2 separate regions of the Homo sapiens genome follow, and region 2 is linked to region 1. Evidence: promoter capture Hi-C in human tissues and cell types (Jung and others, 2019). All regions are on one chromosome and are shown on one strand. The core of a region is centred on a gene start or on the middle of the fragment in contact, and the rest is flanking DNA. Distances in the headings are between cores, read along the strand shown. Region 1 holds the start of SPTA1 (spectrin alpha, erythrocytic 1). Region 2 overlaps SPTA1 (spectrin alpha, erythrocytic 1).

The links. Contacts are between HindIII fragments. The study calls those that stand out against the background at their distance.
Region 2: a contact is called between a fragment that was not itself captured here and the fragment with the promoter of SPTA1 in region 1, in 1 of the 25 tissues and cell types used here (small bowel).

Annotation. Positions count from the first base shown.
Region 1 is chr1:158,685,439-158,691,441 of GRCh38, forward strand. SPTA1 (spectrin alpha, erythrocytic 1) reads right to left here and starts at 1,277. Exons shown (of 52, transcript NM_003126.4): 1 at 1,056-1,277. The coding sequence starts at 1,079. RefSeq lists a silencer at 3,124-3,338 and a cis regulatory region at 3,698-3,995. The HindIII fragment of the contact is 10,406 bases long and covers 1-5,759 here.
Region 2 is chr1:158,634,802-158,641,474 of GRCh38, forward strand. It overlaps SPTA1 (spectrin alpha, erythrocytic 1), which reads right to left. Exons shown (of 52, transcript NM_003126.4): 34 at 5,069-5,206; 35 at 4,781-4,885; 36 at 3,232-3,440; 37 at 1,840-1,960; 38 at 1,112-1,233. Among named protein-coding and RNA genes, the nearest start is that of OR10Z1, 33 kb to the left of the region's middle. The HindIII fragment of the contact is 6,441 bases long and covers 383-6,673 here.

The DNA of each region.
Region 1 (6,003 bases), core at 27-2,526:
ACCTATATTCAGATATCCTGAAGTTTCTAGGGACTATTGTCAGAAGAGCTGTAGTATATTTACGTAATTTTTAACCAGACATAGCTTCTGTTTAGGTTAAAAATTCTTGATTATCCAGAAGACTCTCCTCACTTTTTACATAAATTTGTGCTAGCATTTAAGTTCTATAGATATAATTATATTGGACTGATCATGGAGCAAGTTTAAATCAGCAAAATCACATAATTTCAGATAGATAAAAAGAAATATAATGTTATTGCTTTCAAGGGCTAAAAAGGTGTTGAGAAGTGCTTATTATTTTTAACTTAATTTAATAAATAATTAAGAATGGCTTGCAATTAATTTAGTTAATGATATATGCAACAGTTTGAAAATTTTGTTTCCTTCATACTTAAAAATAAATCTCATATATTTACTCTTTACTTGCTTTACTCACAAACACTATAAATCAAAAGTTCAGCTATCTTCTGCCCAATTGTCACAAATTTCAAATTATTAGCATGTCTGCAATTTATTTTTGAAATATAAAAACTTTTACTCTAAAACAATATATAAGTATCCTTTTCCCAGAGTGGGAGCCAACCTGTTTGTGACAATATCCAGCAAAATCACCATAGGGTTCACCTTCATTCTTCTGGATATGGATACCATTTTCCCTAGCTTACCTCAGCCAAAATGTTTAATATAGAGTTTAAATTTTAATCTCCCATTATTCCTCCTAAGTATAATTGCTACTCTGTGAATTGCCATTACTGGCATGGCTATAGAATTAGATCATTACATGGAGACTCACGTTGTTACTAGGTGTTATTTAGCTTCAATCTCCCTACTTATTCTCTCTGGGAACCGACTTAAGTCATTACTGGGTCTTGGTGCTGCACAGACATAAGCTCAAGGTTATTGTTCACAAAAAATAGTTAAAAGTAAAATTATCTATTTGTTAAAAGCCAAATAATTATTAATGTTCCTGGGAAAGATAGTATAGAAAGTTTAAAGGAAACATCTTTCCTAATAATATTAATGACAAATTGCATGGAAGAGAAATATGTACTTACGGTTTCCTTTGGAAATTGCTCCATTTTTCCTAAAGGTTTAGAACCTGGCAAGATAAAATGTGTCAGAGAGAGAGAGAGAGAGAAATAATTCAAATGGAACTGTCCAGTCGAATTCAAATAGAAATATAGAAACGTTAAGTATGTGGGGGAAAAAAAAAAACCTCTTGCTTGGTCCTAGAATCCCATCAGCCATACACAATCGACATTATCTTTAGAAGACATACTCAGCTGAGGCAACTGCTAAGTTTTACAGATACTGGGTGACTCAGCAGTTTTGGGAGGCTCTGGCTTTCAAAGTTACTCAATAAGACTTAAAAAATGAAAGTAAGGTTTTTGGATGAAAAATTAGAAAAAAAACCCCATATATTTATAGGAAATACAGCTCAACAACTTCATCCAACTCAACTGCAGATTTTTCACAGTCTTTAAGTCAACGAATTATCCTGGCTTTTTCTAGAGAGTCTTTCACAAAATAAGATTTTATTCCTAACCTCAACAATTTGGTCTTTAAAAATCTGATTTAGTTGTACTCTTAATCATTTAAATGGAAGGAACAAAAAAAGTTATATGATGTGTTCATTAATATTTTGTAAAACAAAAATTAGGATACCTTATTTGACAAACCAATGATGTCACAAAAAAGTTGAAAATATGGCTGACTTCTGATATATATGGTATAAATCATCCTACTGTATGTATTAATTTTAATGGAGAACAAAAAGAGGTAGACTTTTTCCATAGGCATAGTTATTTTAGACTAACTTACAAAAATGAAACAAACAAGCAAAAAGAAAATAGTGGGATGCTCTTAGACCTTTCTACAAGCCAGTGGGGCTATCCATGCCAAACTTCATTCCAGTGTAAATGCAGCTTGAATAATCTAACTTCCATGATCTACAAGAGAAGATTTTGATTCTACATTTGTGGTTTCCCCTGTTCTTGGATCTCACATAGAAAAACTGAGAGTCCTTTACATTCTCTTCTTGAAAGTCTGGATTACTTTACTTTTCCATATAGTTTCATTATATTCAAGTCAAATTTAGTAGTAAAGGCAGGAACATAATTTTAGAGACTGCACTATAACACATGCACTGAGGAATATTTGTCTGAAGTTGGGATAAGGAGAGGAAATTATTTTATCTTTAAGAGAAAAGAATCAACATCTATGAAATATTTATATATTAACATGATCAATTTACATTAATTTCTAATCTTTAAAAATTCTGTGAGGCAGGTATTATCATACCCGTCTTTATGTGAGAAAACAGTCCCTAAAAAACAAAGTTTCATTCTATGGTGATTTGGTTTGAAAGTATTTAAATAGTCAAATCCATATCAATATGATTATCATGGCACTCTGCTCCTTATTTTTTTAGTCAATCTTCTCTTAGTCCATCAACATTATTTGTTCTGTTTCCCTGTTCCAGAATCATCTTAGCAAGAATGCCAAACATGTGATAACCTTGTGACCAAAGAAATAGTATGGCCCATTGTGAATAGTGCCACAATATACATATGTGTGCATGTGTTTTTATAGTAGAATGATTTATAATCCTTTGGGTATATAGCCAGTAATGGGATTGCTGGGTCAAATGGTATTTATGGTTCTAGATCCTTGAGGAATTGCCACACTGTCTTCCACAATGGTTGAACTAACTTACACTCCCACCAACTGTGTAAAAGCATTCCTATTTCTCCACATTGTCTCCAGCATCTGCTGTTTCCTGACTTTTTAATGATCGCCATTCTAACTGGCATGAGATGGTATCTCATTGTGGTTTTGATTTGCATTTCTCTAATGACCAGTTATGATGAGCTTTTTTTCATATGTTTGCTGACTGCATAAATATCTTCTTTTGAGAAGTGTCTATTCATATCCTTTGCTCACTTTTTGATGGGGTCATTTGTTTTTTTCCTGTAAATTTGTTTAAGTTCCTTGTAGATTCTGGATATTAGCCCTTTGGAACCAACCTGAATGCCTATCAGTGAAAGACTGGATAAAGAAAATGTGGTACCTATACACTATGGAATACTATGCAGCCATAAAAAAGGATGAGTTCATGTCCTTTGCAGGGATATGGATGAAGCTGAAAACCATCATTCTCCACAAACTATCACAAGGACAGAAAACCAAACACCACATGTTTTCACTCATAAGTGGGAGTTGAACAATGAGAACACATGGACACAGGGAGGGAAACATCACACCCTGAAGCCTGTTGCGGGGGTGGTGGGATAGGGGAGGGATAGCATTAGGAGAAATACCTAATGTAGATGACGGGTTGATGGGTGCAGCAAACCACCATGGCATGTGTATACCTATGTAACAAACCTGCATGTTCTTCATATGTGTCCTAGAACTAAAGTAAAATCATCACAATAAAAAGAAAGTAAAAATGCTTACTAATTCTATAATGTTTATTTTAAAAAAAAAGAAATAGCATGGCCCAATCAGCAGAACTGATCATAAGGAAATAAAAGTGTCTTTTCAACATATGTGTTGGAAAAATTGCATATTCACATAAAAAAATGAAATTGGACCCTTATGTTATGTACAAAAATCAACTCAAATGGGATTAAAGACTTAAATTACAACCTGAAACTGTAAAACTCCTGGAAAAAAAAAAACACAAGGAAAAAGCTTTATGACTTTTATCATATATAATAAGAATTATATATTTAGTATTTTATACAGTTTTAAAAGGATGGGGATAATTTGGAGGGCTGTTGTATCTGGCCATGGTTATCACCTCAGGGAGGGTTTGTACTTTACATAGTAGTTTAATCAGCACTGAACAGCTTGCCTCAGCTGCTGCTCAGGCATCAGAGCAAAGTGATCTGTTTGGTCTTGCCAAGTACTTCTTGGATACGGTACCAGAAACAAATGCAACAAAAGCAAAAATAAACAAATTGGACTACATCAAACTAAACATCTTCTGCACAGCAAAGAAAACAATAAGCAATAAAAAAAGTTCTCTTATGGAATGGAAGAAAATATTTGCATACATCTAACAAGAGGTTAAAATCCAAAATATACAAGGAGCTTCTTCAAATCTATAACAAAAACGAAAATTAGAAAATGAGCAAAGGACTTGAACAGATGATTTTCCAAAGAAGACATACAATTGGCTAACAGGTATAAGAAAACGTGCTCAACATCACTATCAGGAAAATGCAAATCAAAGCGATACTGAGATATTATCTCACATCTGTTAGGATGGCTACTCTCAAAGGAATAGAAAAATAAGTATTGCTGAAAATATGAAGAAGTTGGAACAATTGTACACTGTTGATAGAAATGTAAAATGGTGCAGCCACTGTGGAAAACAGTGTAGCATTGCCTAAAAACGAAAAATAGACCTATCATACAATCTAGCAGTCCCACTTCTGGGTATACAGCCAAAAGAATTAAAATCAGGATTGTAAGGAGGTATTTGCACTTTTGCACTTTTATGTTTATCTCAGCACTATTAACAAAAGTCAAGAAATGGAAACAATTGAAATGTCTATGACTGATGAAAGTGGCATGTACATACAATTGAAATAATTCAGTCATAATAACAAATGGAATCCTGTCACATATGACAACATGAGTGAACCTTGATGAAATTATGCTAAGTGAAATAAGCCAGTCACAGAAGGACAAATACTGCATGATACCACTTATAGGAAGTATATAAAATAGTCCAACTCATAGAAACAGAGTAAATAGTGCTTGTCAGAGGCTGAGGGAAGGAAAAATAGGTATTAAGTAGGTATGAAGTTTTATCCATGAAAGATGATTGAATTCTAGAGCTGTGCTGTACAACACATTGTATAAGTGTTAACAATACAGTATTGTACACTTCAAAATGTGTTAAGAGGATAGATCTCATGTTGTTTCTCACCACATTAGAAAAAAAAGTGTATAAGAATCATAGTGTTTGTTTGTTTGGTTGGTTGGTTTTTGTTTTGTTTTGTTTTGTTTTGTTTTGTTTTGTTTTTTGAGTTGGAGTCTCACTCTGTTGCCCAGGCTGGAGTGCAGTGGCACGATCCCACTTCACTGCAATCTCTGCCTCTCAGGTGCAAGTGATCCTCCTGACTCAGCCCCCCTAGTAGCTGGGATTACAGGCATGCACCACCATACCCGGCTAATTTTGTATTTTTAGTAGAGACAGGGTTTCATCATGTTGGCCAGGCTGGTTTCGAACTCCTGACCTCAGGTGATCCACCTGCCTCTGCCTCCCAAAGTGCTGGGATTACAGGATTGAGCCACCGCACCTGGCCAGAATCATAGTCTTTAGAGCAAAACTGCAATATGGAAGTACACAGGAGACATTCAGGGGAAGGTTTTGACACATAAAAACTGTTGAGTTCCTTGAGTTTTCCATCATTGTAGGCAGCAGAGATTCATGTAAAGTTTGCTCTGACAGTACTCTGGCTGCTGCTCTGGCATTTAGTGACTTAAAATTCAGTCCCATCCTGCACTCAAAGTCCCTTGAAACTAACATTGATTCTCCAGTCTCTAAGCATTGTTTATGATTATTAGTGCACATAACAAGGCATGTCGCTGAGATAGAAGAAAGGGCATGATGGAAAAGTCTTATACCTTGGTGGTTTAACGCTTGGACCTCTGACTTTCTTCTTCTACTTCTACAATCTCCCAAGAATATTCATTGGCTCTGATCATATAGAGACCCTTATTTAAAAGGACTCAGGAAAAAAAAAAATGGATGGAAAATACCATGGAAGTATAAAAGGAAGTACAATCTATAAAACTGCATGCCCCAAATGCCCATCAATGATAGACTGGATAAAGAAAACGTGGCACATATATACCATGGAATACTATACAGCCATAAAAAAGAATGAGTTCATGTCCTTTGCAGGGATGTGGATGAAGCTGGGAATCATCATCCTTAGCAAACCAAAAGAAACAGAAAACCAAACACTGCATGTTCTCACTCAC
Region 2 (6,673 bases), core at 2,353-4,852, 48 kb before region 1:
GGCCTCAACACAGTATAATAGGTGCCTACTGCTCAGTGGTGAAGATCTGCTGTGAAATGGAGGAGACGCCTGCTCTAGAAGTTCATTTTGTGGCACCATCTACTGTCTTAAGAAACTTTGCTGGAGGGAGGAAACCCACCCTAACCAAAAAAAGGGAAATGATGACTTCAGTGTTGGAGAATATCAGCAGTGACACAATGTCTCTTTCTACTCTGAGCACTGCCTTCTTTCGTATATGATGAAGACACCACGAAGTGCCAGAATCTTCCTTTTAGCCCCCCCCAGGAAAAATGGAACTACAGACAGAAATCGTTATATTTGGCTATATGTGTGATATGGTTTGGCTCCGTTTCCCCACCCAAATCTCATCTTGAACTGTAATCCCTATGTATCAGGGGAGGGGCCTGGTGGGAGGTGATTGGATCATGGGAGCAGATTTTCTCCTTACTGTTTTCATGATAGTGAGTGAGTTCTTGCAAGATCTGATGGTTTAAAAGTGTTTAGCACTCTCCCCGCCCCCGCCCGCTCCCTGCCTTGCTAAGATGTTCTTCTTTCTTTGCATTCTGCCATGATTGTAAGTTTCCTGAGGCCTCCCAGTCATGCTTCCTGTACAGCCTATGAAACTATGAGTGAATTAAACTTCTTTTCTTCATAAATACCCAGTCTCGGGTAGTTCTTTATATCAATGTGAGAACGGACTGATACATTGTGTATGTGGTTCAAATTGGCTATATGGCTATAGGGAAAAATAATTCTTCGTCCTTACATTACTAAGGGCTGATTATAATATGAAAACTGGGAGATAAAGCAGAACAGATGTGTGGCTAATAACCTGATATGAAGGATAACACATGTAGGAAAACAATAGTAAAAGACAGTTGCATGTAAATGCAGAAGGAGAGGTAGATTTAGAACAGAGGCAGTGATCATCGTGTCTGGGGTATATGGAGGAAAGCTTTGTGGTAAACTTGTCATTTGAGAAGGGACTTAAGGAGATAGATAGGTAGTTGGGGATAGCAGACAATGCTGAGCAGGCACTTAAGTATCCTCCCAACACCTGCCCAATATCCAAAATCCAGGAAGGGAACTGGGCCTTCTGTATCCCACTCACCGGGCCTTGGCCAACTCTTTGAGCTTCTCCCAGTGTTCAACAAACTGAGCCAGCCGCAACTGGATCTCCTCTTGCCCCACAGCAGCCTTGTCTTTCAGCTTCTCTGCCATATCCAGCACATTCTGAAGAACAACCCCGATACATGTTCCATTACCCCACAATCTCTCCCCATTTAGCCATAGTCCCTGAGCAAAGTATCTAGCCCATCCTACCCTCCAGATTATTTATAAACTCCACGGGACTTTGTGAGGGTCCTGAAAGTCCAGGGAGAATGATGAAAGCTGCAAGAAGATTTGCTATGCTAAACTTTCCCAAGTATTTGCAAATATATCAGTACTTGCACTAGTCTACTCTCCCTAATCTGCTTTTTCGTCTATTCATGGTCACAGAGTGACCCTGCTGCCAAGTCAGACCCAGAGTTGCCTTCTTCCCAGATGGCTCAAGTACAGTTTTCCCAGATGTCCCAACCTGCATCCCAATTGTCAATCATTCCCCAGGAGTGTTAAGAGTGCTCCTTCCAGGGAAGAGCATGGGTTCTTGTTCAGAACTCTTCTACTTATAGGAGACTAAATGTGGAAGAGAAAAGAATATTTGTAAACTCTTTGACTAACTCTCTCTGACCTTGACATCCTATTTTCACGTTTTGTAGCACCCTCTTATTTATCTGTAACACAAGGGGTTGCTATAGGATGATTTCTATATTTTCAGATCTGGTATTCTATTCCTACCTGGATGGCAGGCTCATGGGCCACCAGCTCCCCCTCTAGGCGTTTGTGCTTCTTCAGCAAGTTCTGAACCCCCTGAAGATCTCTCCCATAGTCCTGGGAGCTCACTCGTATCAACTTCTCCCTAAAATCAAGGAAGAAAACAGAAAGTTTGGAGTCTAGACATCTAATGTCATCCTACAGCAATAGCTTTCTATGACTATGTGTGTGGCTGGTGGTGAGGGAGGTGGTTGTAAATTCTGTAATACCCTGGTGCCAATGACCAAAAATATAATTAGTGGAAGAGGCTTGCAGCAAAACTTCTGACTGAGCCAATACAAATTAAAGTAACATACTGATCTCCACCATAGTCACAACTGTAACAGCCTTTCCATTAGTCCCTTTGCTTCTCCACTTGTATATCTTCTCTTTTTTGCTCAAGAATACACACTAATGTTTCCTATTTCAAAAAAATGTGAAAATTATATATGACCTCCACAGGTTTTGTTATTTTCATTTATTAATGTCAATAATAAATTCAGCTAGAATGGGTATAAAGAGCTGATTTCATAGGAGTCATGGCAGTTGGGATGCTTCCAAGTGCAAAAGGTTTGAGCATCACCACGAAGTACAGTCGAAGACTACATGGACAAGATTATTCTATCTTATGGTCTTATCCAAAAAGGTTTTTAAAACATGTTATTTGTTGCCCTGTGCATGGTGCTTCCCTCTAATTTATTGATTACTCATAATAATCAAGCAGCTTTGTAGAAGAGAAGCGTGATGAGGCAGGTTAAATGGGAAGTAGGCAAAATAGTGTAATGTGCTAAGATTTTCCAAATCATATTTTACAACAAAAATGGAATGAGTAATGAAACCTTGGTAGATACTTTGTAATATTCTCTATTGAGTGTCCAATTCAGTGTCATATAAGATATACTGGATATAGAATGACAAGGTTCTGACCAGCTGTGTAACCAAAAATGGAATGAGTAATGAAACCTTGGTAGATACTTTGTAATATTCTCTATTGAGTGTCCAATTCAGTGTCATATAAGATATACTGGATATAGAATGACAAGGTTCTGATCAGCTGTGTAAATGTCCAGGTGTCTCTGTGAGTATTGCATATTATTCAATGAACTACAGAGCAAATGCAGATGGCTTCTTAGTTTTGTTCCTGTCATGTATGTTAACTGCTCTTCACTTCCTCCACACCTGTCTTTCTCTGGCTTGCATCCAGTAAGGGAATTTGGGAAAAATAAAACCAATGTTAACCTTAAGCTGAGGCAAACATGAAGTAGTGCTATCTTCAAGAAACAAGTACAAATTTCATTTCAGCATAAATTGGAACAAGTTTGGTGGATTATCTACTCGCTTGTATTATCCACACATTTTTGAGCTGGTGGCACATACTCTATCCAGGATTCCTCATCATCTAGATCCTGGAAGAACTGGAACAAGGCATAGGCCTCTTTCAATTTTTCGTGGTGTGCAGCTGCCAATTCTTGGACATTCAGGAAACGCTTGTTGACATTATCTTTTTTCTTCACAATCTGATCAACGTTGAAAGTCCCGCTGGAGAGCAAATCTTCAGCCAATGTATTCAGGTCCTTGAGTGCATCCTAGAAAGTCTCGGGATACTCAGTGAATAGTATAGTATAGGCATTACTCAGATCCCACACTTTAACAACAGCTGGTCTGGCTCAAAGACTGGGCCAAATGGATTGCTTTTAAAGACATGGAGTTTGATTATGTGTTATACATGTTAGCATATGTTCAGGTTGGAGAAGGGCCATATGTGGGAGCGATAGAGGTAGCATGACTACATTACTCAAACTGTACATTTAGCCTGTGTCCTGTTTCTCCTTCTGATATTTTCAGTATTTGCCTTCTCTCCCCAACTAAAAAAGAAAACCAGCAAGGTGCGGTGGCTCATGCCTGTAATCCCAGCACTTTGAGAGGCCAAGGCGGTTGGATCAAGAAGTCAGGAGTTCAAGACCACTGTGGCCAACATGGTGAAACCCTGTCTGTACTAAAAACACAAAAATTAGCCGGGCATGCTGGCGTGTGCCTGTAATCTCAGCTACTTGGGAGGCTGAGGCAGGAGAATTGCTTGAGCTGGTACCAAAAAAAAAAAAAAAAAAAAAGGAAAATCTTGGCGGGCAATCATTCGTTCCCATACAAGACTGTCTTATACTGACTTTGATAGCCACAGATTGATTGATTTGACAGTACCAACTTTGGCAGCCACAGATTGATTGATTCAATATTCAACAAGAACTACTCTATGGGCAACATTCTTAGCTGCCCATTGAACACATCTATCTCTTCTGTGTCTACTCCTATTCTAACCCAGCCCCTTAGTGATGTCACAGGAAACATCACCAAGTCCCAAGGCCTTTGACTTCCTGCCTTTTCTGTGTGTATCTGTATTATCAAGTAAAATGATAATTATAAAATTCTTTAGTATAAAATTAACAACTGTCAGCATTTTTATCACTGCTCTCAGCACAAATTTTTGGTTGCTATTAGGATGCAACCAGAATCCTTGACAGGATTTCCAGAGTGTTTGTGTAGTTCATCTTCATTTCACATGCCCCCATCTGATTTTTTGTTTGTAATTCTATAAAGTAAACTTCCACTTTCTTTCAAATACCAGATCAAATATATAGCTTAAAGACAATTGGCTTATATGTATGCATCAGTAAAAGATAAAAAAGATAGTTTCCCAGGTCCACTTTCTGGAATCTTAAAGTCTATAGTTTAGGGATAATTGATTATCAGTGACAGTTTTAATGTCTTCACAGCCCGTTAATTTTACCTAATTAAAATGACTGCTGGTTGAGAACACTAAGAACAATTTTGCAAGGCTATGTTTTCAAATGGTCTCCTAACATGGGAGGGAGAAGAGCCAGAAATATTTCTATTCTGCCCAGAGGAGAGGGATGCCAACACTACTTACCTCTCGAGCCAACATCTCTCTCTCCAATAGCTGATGCTTCTTGAGTAGGTTTCCTGCTGAAGCCAAGTCCCTGGCCTGATCTTTCATGGCCAGCAATGTCTCTGCCTGGAAATAGAGAAATAAGCAATAAAGCTGCCAGGTGAAACTGCCTTTAAGGAGAATAAGATCAGCAGCTATGTCCCCAAACTTTTCCCAGGAAAATTCAAGGAAATTGCCCATGGGTAAATTCATTTGTCTGACAAGTATGTATTAAACTCTTGTGTCTCTACTGTTTCCGGGTGCAATTACCTCTGAGAGCCAGAACTCAAAGTCCCGGATGCTTGTGTTGAACCTCTGTTGACGACTGGCCTCATTGAGCTTCTTCCCTTTGTCATTTGTTCTCTCAAGCAGATGATCCCAATGTTCCTTCAGCTGTTCCAGTTGCTCCTAACCCAAGGAGAGTGAGGAGTCATTACAATCTTTAGGATCCCGGGCCCTGTGACTACTTGAGAGAATAATGTAGGAAGGCTGTGAAGGCAGGAACTAGCCAAAATTTGCTGATACTTGAATATCATACATTTCAAACCAGTTATACTTAATCTGGGAAAACAATAGGAGTTGTTGGACAAAAGAGAAAGTTTAAAAAAGGGTCCTGTGTTGAGTAAAGAGACTGACATACAAATGCCAAAAAACTATTGGCAGAAGGGATAGAAAATGTAAAACAAGCATGATAAGAGTTTGGAATTAAGCCGAAGCTTTCTTAGTGTTCCAGGTACTGAGTATGATGGGAGTGATAAGGTCTGGGCATCACTCCTTTTCTCCTTCTTTGTGCAACAATCAGAGGGAAGACTGTTTTTCTGTGATATGGTCACAGAACATATTTTATATTTCTACTCATGGAACATTAAAGTCTCAGGATACAAAATCAATGTGTAAAAATCACAAGCATTCTTATACACCAATAACAGACAAACAGAGAGCCAAATCATGAGTGAACTCCCATTCACAATTGCTTCAAAGAGAATAAAATACCTAGGAATCCACCTTACAAGGGATGTGAAGGACCTCTTCAAGGAGAACTACAAACCACTGCTCAATGAAATAAAAGAGGATACAAACAAATGGAAGAATATTCCATGCTCATGGGTAGGAAGAATCAATGGCCATACTGCCCAAGGTAATTTATAGATTCAAGGCCATTCCCATCAAGCTACCAATGACTTTCTTCACAGAATTGGAAAAAACTACTTTAAAGTTCATATGGAACCAAAAAAGAGCCTACATTGCCAAGTCAATCCTAAGGCAAAAGAACAAAGCTGGAGGCATCACGCTACCTGACTTCAAACTATACTACAAGGCTACAGTAACCAAAACAGCATGGTACTGGTACCAAAACAGAGATATAGACCAACGGAACAGAACAGAGCCCTCAGAAATAATGCTGCTTATCTACAACCATCTGATCTTTGACAAACCTGAGAAAAACAAGCAATGGGGAAAGGATTCCCTATTTAATAAATGGTGCTGGGAAAACTGGCTAGACATATGTAGAAAGCTGAAACTGGATCCTTTCCTTAAACCTTATACAAAAATTAATTCAAGATGGATTAAAGACTTAAATGTTAGACCTAAAACCATAAAAACCCTAGAAGAAAACCTAGGCAATACCATTCAGGACATAGGCATGGGCAAGGACTTCATGTCTAAAACACCAAAAGCAATGGCAACAAAAGCCAAAATTGACAAATGGGATCTAATTAAACTAAAGAGCTTCTGCACAGCAAAAGAAACTACCATCAGAGTGAAGAGGCAACCTACAGAATGGGAGAAAATGTTTGCAATCCACTCATCTGACAAAGGGCTAATATCCAGAATCTACAATGAACTCCAACACATTTACAAGAAAAAAACAAA